Regions from separate parts of the Homo sapiens genome. Here regions 2 and 3 are each linked to region 1. The links are contacts of gene promoters, found by promoter capture Hi-C in blood cells and fetal thymus (Javierre and others, 2016). All regions are on one chromosome and are shown on one strand. Each heading gives the region's core, a stretch centred on a gene start or on the middle of the fragment in contact. The rest is flanking DNA. Distances are from core to core; before and after follow the strand shown. Region 1 holds the start of GPR65 (G protein-coupled receptor 65). Region 2 overlaps KCNK10 (potassium two pore domain channel subfamily K member 10). Region 3 overlaps LOC107984699 (a long non-coding RNA gene).

Evidence for each region. The method cuts DNA at HindIII sites, captures the fragments that hold promoters and counts their contacts. A CHiCAGO score of 5 or more calls a contact.
Region 2: a fragment that was not itself captured here is called in contact with the fragment with the promoter of GPR65 in region 1 in 1 of 17 cell types (monocytes); the score reaches 5.0 in monocytes.
Region 3: a fragment that was not itself captured here is called in contact with the fragment with the promoter of GPR65 in region 1 in 11 of 17 cell types (naive CD8 T cells, total CD4 T cells, naive CD4 T cells and 8 more); the score reaches 11.7 in naive CD8 T cells.

The regions. Positions count from the first base shown.
Region 1 is chr14:88,002,731-88,007,106 of GRCh38, reverse strand. GPR65 (G protein-coupled receptor 65) reads right to left here and starts at 1,972. Exons shown (of 2, transcript NM_003608.4): 1 at 1,885-1,972. RefSeq lists enhancers at 528-587, 1,388-1,557. The HindIII fragment of the contact is 4,497 bases long and covers 1-4,376 here.
Region 2 is chr14:88,248,840-88,253,215 of GRCh38, reverse strand. The region is part of intron 2 of KCNK10 (potassium two pore domain channel subfamily K member 10); the gene reads left to right. Among named protein-coding and RNA genes, the nearest start is that of KCNK10, 72 kb to the left of the region's middle. The HindIII fragment of the contact is 1,036 bases long and covers 1,509-2,544 here.
Region 3 is chr14:88,145,767-88,150,142 of GRCh38, reverse strand. It overlaps LOC107984699 (a long non-coding RNA gene), which reads right to left. Exons shown (of 2, transcript XR_001750851.2): 2 at 3,640-4,376. Among named protein-coding and RNA genes, the nearest start is that of KCNK10-AS1, 13 kb to the left of the region's middle. The HindIII fragment of the contact is 8,467 bases long and covers 1-4,376 here.

The DNA of each region.
Region 1 (4,376 bases), core at 723-3,222:
GATGGACTACCTATGAAGGATGGAATTTAGACGGACAAAAGACTTCTCAACAGCGATAACAGACAGCAGAAGATTAAAAGTTCCAAATTGCTAAGAAAATATATGTCATCCTATAATTATATACTCAACAGAACTAAATTTCAAGGACCAGAGCAAGAATTAGGACATTTTCAGGTAAACTACCACTCAGAACATTTACATCCAAAATCCCCACTAAAGAAACTTCTAAAGGATATAACTGAAGTAGGAAAAGGACACTAGGGTAATGTCTGCGATGCAGGAAGATTGAATCAGCCCCCGCGGATGGGACTCTGATGCACACACAACACGTCCAACACCAGGCTCATGTGTCTTGGGAAGAACACCTGAACCATGAAAACATCCTCCCCTTAAGACCAGGACCGAGAAAGTCGGGTAATGGGCAGCATGTGCCTCTTCCTCCTTTGTCCGTGTTACTCAATAGATAGTCATCATTTTCTTTAAAAATGGTATGACAGATTAAATGAAAAAATGATTTTTAGAAAGGTTTATAAAGTTTTCAATGGAATACATTTCTCTAGCTGTAAAAGCATTTCCTGCCTTGACTTAACCACAAGACAGGATGGGTTGATGAAGCAGAGGCCCTCTTCTTTGTAGTGACGCAGAGGCAGTACAGGCTTGTGGTTAAGAGCGTGGGCTCTGGAGACAATTCGAATGCCTCTCAACAGCACTCTGGGCCCATTGGTGTTTCTTCACCTCTCTAAGTTCCAGTTTTCACATGTGTAAGTTAGTACCCAGTTTCTAAGATTGTTGTGAGGGTTAAATGAAACGACATATGAAGCAAAGTTCCTAGCACATGGGAGGCATTCACTGTACGTTAGCTGGTAATATTGTTTTAATGACATTGGTAGTCTGCACCAATCTTTGTGCTGTCCCCTACATTTTCTGAAAAGAAATCATCTTTAGTCATCTAGCCACAGCATAGCAGAAAAGCTGGAGGTGCTCAGAGTGTAATTTATATGGTAACACTTCACGTATAATACTAGGCTCTGCAGATAATAGTTGTTCATTTAATTTGGGTGGATCTGAGATTTTAGTGGAATACTGTATATAATTCCTATTACAGTATTCACATATCTTTTCAGATATTATTTTGCCTCCTTTAATCAAATTTTGAGAAAATTGTTTTTAGAACAAGCACTGAGAAATTTTGGTGAGTTTTTAATTTTTTAATTTTTACCAGATGTCAAAAAAGACAATCTACAGTATATTAAAGTATATCTATTCTTGAACAGATCTAAAAATAGTACAAATCATTGATGACGATGACCAAAAGTACAATATTTTCCTACAGTGTTATAGAAAATGCTTGCTTTCATCTATCAGTTTAATAGTTACTTATTAAGACTCTACTATATATTTCAGGCACTGTGGTAGTCACTTATTAACTAATAATTATTACTTGACATTTATTAATACTGGAAATATTCTTTCCTAATATCACATTTTTTTCTGATGGATATAAAAAGTATTTACTGGACCATTGTACAGATGAGGGATTGGTGCCAGATAGCTCTAAAGCCAGGGGCTGGTAGGCTTCTTCCTAATACTGAATGAAGTTTGCCAAAGCACTGTTTCCTGAAAAGAAAATAAAGTATGAACAACCCCCTTTTTCTATATCTATGGTTTTGCCTAATTAGTTCTAAATTTAAAGTTTGGCCCTTTACCACTGCTCAAAGTAGAGGAAACCATGTGTCTTCCTCATTTCTTTCTCTCTTATCATGCTTTGCATTACCACATTTATACAGCCTAAACCAGGAAGAATGTTGCGAACATCACTGACAATTATGCCAAAGCATGTTATCTACTTTAAAATATTATTTTATTTTTTAATCTTATACTTACCCATATTTCTTCCGGTGATGTGTTTGTTGACTGAGGAGCTTGATAAATCTGTGCCTGCATCAAGTCAAGAAGAGAAACCAACACTGCTGAGGGGACAGGAAATTGCACTCATATTTCAGCACAAACCAATGAGGAAGCAGCATCTCAATGAGAAGGGTGTGCGTTATCCAAGTTTGAACAAAAAAAGTCTCTTAAATACTTTTAAAGATGTTTTTATTTATTGTTTACTGTACTGTAATTTTTATAACTCACTTGTCTCATTGCATCTTAATTACAAGTATGTACTGATATTATATTATATGCCCTTTACTTAATGGAATATATGTTAAATATTTTATTTATTTCTTTGTTCATTCATTCATTCATTCATTCATTCACTCATCATGCCAGCAGTGTGCGGGGAGATGTATACGAACTGGCTATCAACCAAAAGCAGCTTTTTTTACCTAGTAAAGGAGAAAGACATGTTTAATAATGATTGTAATGCAATGGCAAAATGAAGAAGTACTTCAAGAGGGGTACAGATAAAATAGAATGAACCATTTGGATGTGTGAGATAGGGGAGGATATTGTAGGTAGATTCAGGGTGATAAAGTTCCTGGGACAAAAACAGAAAAGGGAGAATTGAGGCTGAGGGGTTTAATGATGGATATTGTGCTGCTTAAGGCAGGGGTTAAGGTAGCCAACCTCATACCGTCTTTCTTTTCTTTTTTTTTTTGAGAGACTAATGGGATTAGATATATAGTATTTGATTGTAGAACTATTTTCTCCTTTGATTCTCTCCTCTTGGAAACAGAGATGGCTAAAAACCAGTTGAATTAACTAGCTGAGACAAATAATTTTATGAAACTTGAAAATTTTATTTAAGACTTACATTGTTATTATAAAAACTCTTGTACTTTAGCAAGTTAAAGTTAATGCCAAATCTATAAGTGGTTTAATATGAAGTGAAATTAGCTCCTATAACTTTCTTACTATTGATATATAAAAAAGTCAGAAATATCACTTTTGAATCTTGCCCTCATAAACTTTTATTAGAAATGAAGGGAAAATATTATTTGAAAGAACAGAATTTATTTGGGATGAAAACATTTGACTTAATTTTAAAGATGTAATCAGGACATTTTGAATCTGTGTTTGTTAAAGGACATTAAGGGTTGTTGCTGGTGTTTTTTTTTTGTTGTTTTTTTCTCCCTACCCAGAGATAGAAAAGATTAGCCTGTATATAAGCAAGGCTTTCCATATTGAAGTTGATCAGGGTATATCAGGAATGTAAAGATTTTCAATACTTCCGTTGTAGGTCTTTCTTTGAGAATAATAAAACTAATACCTTACATTTATAAAGCACAGGATAGTTTATAAAGTAATTTAGCATATAGTAAATTATAAATCAATATATTGTTACTGAAATAATAAAAATTAAGTATAAAGTAAAAAATTAACAATAAATGTCTTGAAGTTTTACAAAAATGAAAAGTAACGATTTCAGTTTACTTGTGACTGTAATTCAAAGTTCTCATTTTTGCTTGGTTTCGTACATCTGCTTATCTGTGGTTTCTATACATGATATATCTTTTTTTAAGTTCGGGGTACAAGTGCATTGTTACGTAGGTATTTCATTACTCTGATGATCTCTTACTTTATCTGAATAGACTATACTTCTGCTTTTAGGGAAAGGGTATTTTCATGTCCATATCTAATATTCATGTATTTTGCTTTTCAAAAGAAAAAGATTATCATTAAGAAACATAAGAAACACAAACTTTCACTTCTGATTAAAGAGGAGAAAAAGCTGGAGCTGACCTATGCTAAAACCTTGCCAACTCTACACAATAAGAAATTTACCAGCTTTTAAGAAATTTGCTTCTTAATATGGAAAATATGGCAATACTGTATTTTCAACTATAGGGCTATCTTTTATAATGAACGGTTAGAAATTTTAAATCATTGAGTCACTGTGACATTTTAACAACATAACAATGAGATAAAGACAATTAGTAGTTATTCAGAACACTGCCTTAACGGGGTTGGCATTTCTGACCAGTCAATTATTTGGTTTTCTGTGGTCACAATCTGGGGACCCAACACTGGCCAGTTGGGCTACTCATGGGGTAATGGGGAGGAGATTGTGGATCTACCTGGTTCCAACTTCTCCATTGGGCAGACAGTGCAAGAGTGTGTTCTACTGATGAAGGGGTCCTTTGTGAGGCCACACTATCTGCTAGGTGTAATTTCACTAGCTAAAGCGGCAACTAAATATGGCAGGGTAAGATTTTGAAATAATGCTATATTTTCCCAGCCACATTTCTTTTCACTCTAGCCCTACCCTTACACAATCAGTGAGCCATTTTGCATTTATTGCCTCAAGGAAATTTCTGGCACAAGCGGGGGGGAAAAAAAGAAGACAATGTGAGTTTTGACTTTCAAAAATTCAAGGCCTTGGAAAAGACTGAGGCACAGACACTATGCTTGGGAGAATATGTGCTGAAATA
Region 2 (4,376 bases), core at 777-3,276, 250 kb before region 1:
CTTTCCAGTCAGCATTATTTATTAGGCACTGATTCTGTGCTGGCTGGGTGCTAGAGAGTTTACATATATTACTTAGCTTCATTTGCCTCTCTCCATTGCACCAAGAGGCGGCCACTGTTGCTGCCCCATTTTACAGAGGGTAAAGTTCTTGCATCTAGCTAGTGACCAAAGCAGGACTTGAGTCTAGCTAGATCTCTCTGACTCCAGAGGCCACGCTCTCTTAATCGTACTCTCCTTGGCTTGACACGGTGGGCTTAGAGAGTACATAATTGGATCAAGACAAATTCCTCCTGACGAAGGGAAAACCCACTCAAACAACATGATGAGCAGGCTCCTTTGTGACAGTTAGTGCTTGCCTTCTAACGCAGAGCTCTCTCTCCTGTCCTCTTCCTGTATTTGTAACCTTTCTGACATACAGAGAGCCTGCATGACAAGGCTGGGGTGCCAGATTGTTGGCCTCTGGCTTACTGACTCATTTTATTGGCTGTGCGCATTGGGCCTGACTCTACCATGTTTTAGTGGAGAAAGATTTAGTCTAAGATGTGGGCAGCGGCATGTGAGGAGTGGGTATTGTGCTGTGGTCCTGGGTATGAACCTTTGATGTTGTCATGGCAACCAAAGCTGCTATTCTGCAGATGAGAGGACTAGATATTATGAACTGTCAAACTGTTCTCTCCATAACCAAGGAGATGTTGGTAATCTCCTTGGTAATTTGCATGACCCATAAACATTTCCCAAGGCTGTGGCTCTGCCCTTCTGCCAAGACCCGAGTCACTCACTTGCTCACTCACTTACTCATTTGCTCACTCACTTATTCATTCTTTCATTCAACAAACTTGTTGATTGCCTACTGTGCTAGATGCTGGGATGTAATGGTGAATAAAAGACAGACATGGTCCCTGCCTTCTTGGAGCTTATAACTAGGATGACCAAATGTCCCAGGTTTTGTGGTTCTGGAGTAATTGTTAATAGTGCCCCTTTCTCTCTCAGAAGTGTCCTGGGGCTGGGCGTGGTGGCTCATGTCTATAATCTCAGCACTTTGGGAGGCTGAGGCAGGCGGATCACTTGAGCTCAGGAGTTTGAGACCAGCCTGGGCAACATGGCAAAACCCCATCTATATTAAAAAAAAAGTGTCTTGGTTTGAAATATAAAATATATAGTGACCCTACTTATAGACAGTGGGAGAGCCAAACCTTATGCATGTTATTACACAAATAATTGTAACTAAAAGCCAGATGAAAGTTGCAAAGGAGAGGGAGCTAGAGCTATGGGACACCCAAATAGGAGAACTGATTTAGTAGGACAAAGATTCCAGGCAGAGAGGGCTGAGTCAAGGCCCTGGATGGGAGGAAGCAACATGCCATGGCTGAGGACTTGAGAGAAGTGAGCAAATGTGGCCAAAGGGCATTTAGCAAAGGGAACTTAGAAAGCAATTTGGCTGGAGACAGGCAGGAGCCAAACCACGCAGGTGCTGATTCTGAATTTTATCTTAAGAGCACTGTGAAGCTTACAGTTATGTTTTCAGTAGCAGAGTGATATAATCTGGTCAATCAGTACATTGCCATTTTGGTTCTTCGTATAAACCCAAAGGGTTTTAAGTTATTTGTTCATTAATTCAATAACTAAACATTTATGGAGTGGCAACTGTGGCACTCTGCTAAGTGTTTTGCTCTGGAGTTCTGAACTCAATTGTCCTCAGTGGTGCCAAAACTCAACTCTTGGGGGAAGCCTTTATGGGCCCTTTATGTTGGGTCGTGTCCTGCTTGGCACCATTTGCCCCCCATTTGCTAGACTCTCTTGGATGACCTTTACTTTTCTCTGTCCTCTTTCCATGACTGTGAGCTCTTTGAAGTTGAATCTATGTCTTTTATCAATATATCCCTTCTGCCTGGCACAGTGGCTGGCCAATAGAAAATGCTAAAGGCTTGAGGAATGAAGGAATGGTGCTTTTTGTGTCTGTTCTTTTTTTTTTTTTTTTTTTTTGAGACAGAGTCTTGCTCTGTCTCCCAGGCTGGAGTGCCTTGGCATGATCTCAGCTCACTGCAACCTCCACCTCCTGGGTTCAAGCGATTCTTCTGCCTCGGCCTCCCTAGTAGCTGGGACTACAGGTGTGCACCACCACGCCCAGCTAATTTTTGTATTTTTAGTAGAGACGGGGTTTCATCATATTGGCCAGGCTGGTCTTGAACTCTTGACCTTGTGATCTGCCCACCTCGGCCTCCCAAAGTGCTGGGATTACAGGCATGAGCCACTGTGCCCAGCCTTTGTATCTGTTTGAAGACCAAGAGCCCTTCATTTAGAACTTTCACAGAAGGAAAGCAAAAAATTCTTTTGTTTCTGTTTTACAAGTCTTTTCTTTTTGGTCTGGTTGTCAATAGTACTTCTCTGGATCCGCCTCCTGTATTCAAGTGATTTTTCTGTCTCAGCCTCCTGAGAAGCTGGGACTACAGGGGTGTGCCACCACACCCAGCTAAGACAAAAACTCACCTTGTTGTCTTCTTTATGCATGAGCAGATTCCCTTGGTATCTATAGCCGTCGAAGCTTTACGTATTTCCCTATTTAGGGACATAAGAATTTTTAGGAAAGCAGCGTGTTGGAAAGCACGGCACCTGAGATGTTCATGGAAATCCTTGTTGTGACTTCAGAGTGCAGATCTAGAGCAGCCCTCTGTTTGTCTGCCCTGGGCCATCCCCTATTTCAAGCAGTCTTTAGTCCAGGAAGTTTAGGTAGCAGCTCAGGCAGCAGGTGAGCTCTGGAGAGTGCAGGTTCGGGTTCTTTGAGCCCAGGGGCACAACTCTGAGTTGAAGTGACTCCTCCTGGCTGTTGCTTTGAATTTAGAAGAGCTGCCCTTTCACCAGCAAGGCAGTCACGCAAAAGATGCTTCAATGTGTGCAAGATCAGGCCTGCAGCCCCCAGCCTGTGTCTACAGGCCTCCGAGTCATTATTATTACTGTTTCTATCCCTGGGGTTATTGATTTCATCACTGTTTAGTGAAGGAGATCTAAAGCTTTTAAGCCAGAAATTAAAGAGGTAATGGAAATTGGCATGCCACTGGAAAATGAATTTGCAAATGAGAATTCAATGTTCTAAAAAAACTCCCATAAAAATAAAACCAAAACCCAGAAGTGAATGCTCCTGTGACTGCATTTTTTTCCAAATGTGCATGGGTTTGTTCTCCTTTAGAGTGTGGCTGTATACATTATGGAATAATGAGATTTTGATGGTGTCTCGTTCCTACAATTGCTCTTATTACTTATCACAATACAATGTATTCATTTATATAACTAATATTTACTTAGTACCTATAATGAAGCAGGTGCTATGTTTGGCTCTAGCGATTAAAAAACAATAAAAAATGCAAGATGCCTCCACCCTGTCCTCAGGGAGCTTGAGGTTCAGTATTAATTATATCGCTAGCCAATTCTGGCATGGTGCTTACTGTGGACAGGAACTGCTCTAAATGCTTCACGTGTAGTAACTCATTTAAATTTTACATTGATCCTATGAAGTGGGGTAAGCAACAGAGGAACAGAGAAGTTAAATAACTTGCCCAAGCTGAAGTGAGAGGTGGAACTGTGATCCGGCCAAGGCAGTCCGGCTCTAGAATCCATGGTTTTTAGCCATGATGCTCTACTCTAGTGGATAGTTACAGCCCAGTAGCTATTGGTTACTAGATTGGTTCTAGAAGACAAGGAAGCACTCAGGTCCTTAGTCACAGAGCAGGAGTCTCTGACTCAACCTATGGGACCCCCAAGAGGACCTTCATTCACCTGTGAGTCAACTGCAGTGAGTCGTGATTACCTCCTGGTTGTCCTTTAGAGTGGCAGGGCTTTGTGTCTTAACATAAGGTGTTGAAGCTGGGTCACCCTTTTCGATCTAAAACCAATGTCCATGGGTTATCATTCAGGTCTGCAATTAAGAGTAGCTTGTCACTTTATATTGGGAACATTTATTTTTCCTTCCTTCTCTATGGAAATGGGCAGAAGAGATGAAAAGCCTGCTGGTGCAGCTTAACTTTCCTCAGTAAGTGAGTGTTTAACCTTTTGTTTTTTTAAAAATGGAGATGAGACATACAAATTATGACTTCTCTATGTTGTCCTTTTTTTTAGTTGGAAGAAGGTGACATGACAGATGAGCTTTAGAAAAATGTTTAGAAGGTGAACAGAGAACTATTCGTGGAAGATAGAAGGCTAGAGTTAAAAGAGAGGACTTTTAACCAGTCTCAGCTCTGACACTTCCTAACTACTATAACCTCACAGGATTTTGTGAGGACTAAATAGGATAATAAGGCGGAGTCTGCCACATTGCAAGTGCTGGCAGCTATGATTAATTTTAGGAGTATTCTAGAACTTTCCCTGAAGTTTCTAGCATTGTC
Region 3 (4,376 bases), core at 578-3,077, 140 kb before region 1:
CTACTGTCAAATGCTTGAATAAAGGAATTGGCGTTTCTGTTAACTTATTCTTCCCGGAGGAAGAGGCCGGCAAATCATCATGGTTGTATGAAGCCAGAGAGCGCTACTGCCATTAAAGCTAATTGGAAATTCATGTGCTATGGACAGCATTGTTAGTGAAGGATTGACTCTTGCACCTGCCATTTGCTAGAAGATAAGGTCATTTACTGATTGTGAGGGATTTGGAGCACTAAAGTCATCTCCTTACATCGGTATCCAAGGATAGAGTTGATTGCGGTATTTGGGGAATGAAAAGAAGAGACTAATGCTGATTTCTAATCTCTCTCTTTCTCTTCCAAAGTAGGAAATGACCCTTATGTCAAAGGATAAAAGGAAACAGTCTATTTAGCAGGAAAGAAGGAGGGGAGGTAGAGGGCGGGACTGTCACCTTTGTTAAGGAGCCACTCATTGCTTGACACTCAGCTAGGCACCTGACACATATAATTCAATTTTTATACAAACTTTGGCAAGAAGACTAATTATTTCAGTGTTACAGATGCAGAAACCGATGCTCAGAGAGGATAAGTAGACCCACCCAAGGTAAACACAGCTCAAGAAGTGGCAGCATCCTTGTCTGCCTGACACCAGAACAGTTTTTGGGGACACTCTCATATTGCTTCTGTGCCTTGACTACAGAAGTAAAACTGTCATGCTGGGTTTCAGGTTGGGCAAGCAAATGGGCATTTTGGAGAATTAGATTTTATTCAGAGCAATATTGGGTTTTCAGTCTTTCCTGACACTTATGATTATATCATTTTCAGCCCTGAATTCTGTGGAATCTACCTTGCCTAGATGAATCAGAATATTTAGAAATGACAGGCTTATGGAAGTACTTCAGAGAAGAGCTGGGGTAGGCTGGTAAAAAACATGTATCAAGACTTCAGACATAAAAGTTGCCCTGAATTGGTGACTTTTAGCCCCATCCAGTCTGTATAGTCATTAGACAGCCTGAATGTCAGATATTCAGGGGACAAAGCCTTAGAATGAAAAAGATAAATGGTTGTTTCAGTAATGTTCCCCTACATACTCTAAAAGAAAGTCAGCATTAGATACCAGATCAATCTTTTTTGTTTTCACCATTTAATAGGTCTGTGGGAAGACAGAAGTTTCAAGTCAATGAAAGTCTTTGTAATCAAATTGCATTGAACAGGAAAGTCATACAAAAGGTTACATTGAGGTCCTATGCTCTGAATATAGTTAGTAATAGGATAGTAGAATGAAAGAAGAAAGGGAAGAAAAGGGAGAAGAGAGAAATCTGAGAATATGTGGATTAGAAATGGTGCAAGGACAAGCACCTCAGAAGGCAAGGAAGGCATTAATATCCAAGGATGGAGTAGAATGTGATATTTTGGGGATGAAAAGAGTAATGCTGATTTCCAATCACTGTCTTTCCCAAATTAGGGAATGATCCTCATGTTGATTTAATGTTAGAAGAATGCACTAAAGAAAGAGGGCCCCTGACTAAGGTTGAGGATAAGGGATTAGATTGAAACAGCAGAAGCAACATGAGAATTGGATGAAAGGAGCAGGGAGAACCTTCACTGCACTTAGCAACTTTCATGTTTTAGTAACTCAGGCCCTGGATCTTCCTGTCTTCCAGATCAACAGTTCTCTCCTATAGTAACAAAATTGCCTGGCTGGAGCCCCCATTCTTGGACCCTGCAGAGATTGCATCTTCCCAAATGCATCCAAGGACTTCTTATGAGCCTTGAATTTCTCCAGTTCTTTCATTTATCCATTTTCCTGATCCTACTGAATTCCCTTTTTCAGTTTCCTGGCACCTTGTAGCTCTTTGTTTTTTGCTCTTGTCATCCCAGAGTGAAAAAGCTACTTCTGTTTCTGTAGCTGAAGGTTTTGGGTTAACAGAAGGGCTTTTGTCACTGCATAGAATAGAAAACAAAATTCATAAATTATTTCAGGCTATGGGGACTTAACTGGCACTCTCCCTAGGTGTCCTTCATTCCTGTTTTCCTTACTACTTGTCCACCTCATCCATTTCTTCTAAGATCCCTACTCCACCCACTACTCCCCAAACTGGTGGCATCTACAGACAGCTCCAAGATTCTGGTTGCTCCATTAAGCAAAGCAGTTTAGCTCTCTTTGGCTTCCACAAGAAACCACACTGTTATGGGATCTTTGGGGCATCAATTTTCTGGCCAGAAACCTCTGTCGCCAGTGGTGCGTTTGCCTGAGTTCTTGTCCTACATCCAGAAAGAATGAGGTATATAGATAAATGAAGAGTGACAAGTGAAGGGTGAACAAAATGAAGATGAGCTTTATAAAGTGTTAGAACAGCTCAGAGGAGGCCTAGAGTGGATAAGTCCTCTCTATAGGCTGGTTGTCCTGTGGAGTGTTCAGCTCTCAGCAGAGCAGAGGCCCTGGAGAGGGTAGCTCCTCTCTGCTCACTGGTCATCCTGATGTCTCTCCTGATCTCAGCAGAGAGGGTACCTCCTCTCTGCAGCTGGTCCTCCTCTGCAGTTGTCTCTCTGACTCAGGCCATCCTGTGCCCTACTCTGGCTGAGCCCTGGGCTTTTATGGACCTCAGAGGGGAAAAAGTGTCTGCTGATTGATCCATGGGCAGCCACGGGTGGGTCCAGAAGAGGTATTATGAGACCCCACTCTGGTCAGTGGGACTGGCAGCCCAGCCCCCAACCTCCTGGCCTGAAAGTGGGGCCTTACTGGAGACCAACCCTTTCCCACCGAGGAATCAATCTGCCTTCTGCTGGTATTAATGGCCCCAGGGCTCAGCCACAACCTCACTCCAGGATGGAAGCAGGTGCCAGGAGAGGAACGAGGCCAGACAATGGGAGCAGACAGCCCAGAGCCAACAGGGCCATCAGTGGGGAGGGCCTTCCCACCCCCAAGGAGGCAGACTACAGAGATGCTCAGGTCTCGTGCCTGGGAGGGCAGCTGCAGCTACACCCAGGGAGCTCCCACCCCACCAACTTGGAAGGGGCAGAGCTCCCGATTGTCCCTGGCTCCTGCCTGCTCCATGGAGTGGGAGGCCCAGGTCTGCAGCTGCTGGTTGGGCAGCTGAAGCTGCACCCCAGAGGGCAGATCCTGCCTGCTTCCGGTTCCCCACAAGAGCACAGGGAGGCTCGGACCCACAGCTGTAGTTTGGGCGGCTGCCCATAGACCAGGAGGCCTGGATCTGCAGCTGCAGCTTGGCCCATAGACCAGGAGGCCTGGGACTGCTGCAGTGGTGCCCAGGGAACTCCATGGAGTGTACAGGCTGAGTCGCAACTCCCTGCTGCAGCCAGCATGGTAGTAGTGAAATGGGAAAAGTTCCCTTGTCCCCCCTCGCAAGGCATGTGATGCAGGTGTGACTTGATTCTTCAATGCCCCGCTGCTCAGACCTCTAGGGGAGCATACAGACAGGCGGGCTGTGGGGCTCTGATCCCACAGCAGTGTCTAGGGGTGAATGTTTAAAGCTAAAGCCCCAGTGGGTGTGTGTTACAGGATACTCTTTTAGTTTTGCCATCCATAGGCAGCTGTGTTAGCCAGCACAATTAGATCCCTGCCTTATCCCAAGGACAGAGGGCTTTCTCTGTCCTGGGGTTCTTGCCTTGGTGTACTGGAAGAATCAGATCACATGTGGGCTTGGAGAAGGAGTGCAAGGTTTTATTAAGTGGAAGTAGCTCTCAGCAGATGGGGGAGCCAGAAGGGAGATGATTTTTCCCTGGAGTTGGGCCAGTTGGTGGCCCTAGCTCTCCTCCAACTGCCCCAGCCAAACTCCGCATTGTTCCGCTGGTTGGTGGCCTGCCAGCACGCTGGTGCCTGTCGGTGTGCGCCTCTCAATGTCCCGATACCCGTGTGCATGTCTTTCTTCACTGGTGGTGCTCTTCCTTATGTCCAGCACCTGTGTGTCTATCTGCTAGGGTCTTGGAGAATGAGTGCCAGGTTTTATTGAGTGGAAGTAGCTAGGGTCTCAGGGGTTTTTATAGACACAGGATAGGGGCATGGTAGGCCAGGTTGGTCTTGGGTAATGCAACCATAGGGCAGGAAAACAAAAATTCCTGTCCACACTTAGATCCATAGGCACAGGTCCGGGGATGGAACTCTAGCCACAGACCATGCCCTTTTCTACCCAGCACTTCTCTTCCCCCACTTCGATATCATTTAAAGGGACCATGCTCTTCCATTTCCAGCAGTTCCCTTCTGGATCATTTCTACCCTCTGAAGAGGTACACCTAATTGCCATTAGAATACGGATGATGATTAGTCCTAAGTGCTTCCCACAGACAGGGGGCATTTGTTTTTGGGGAGAACGGCAGTCAGATTCCTCCCAGAGGTCTATCTAAGGGTTCCAAGCAAAGGGAGCCAATGGATTCTAGGAG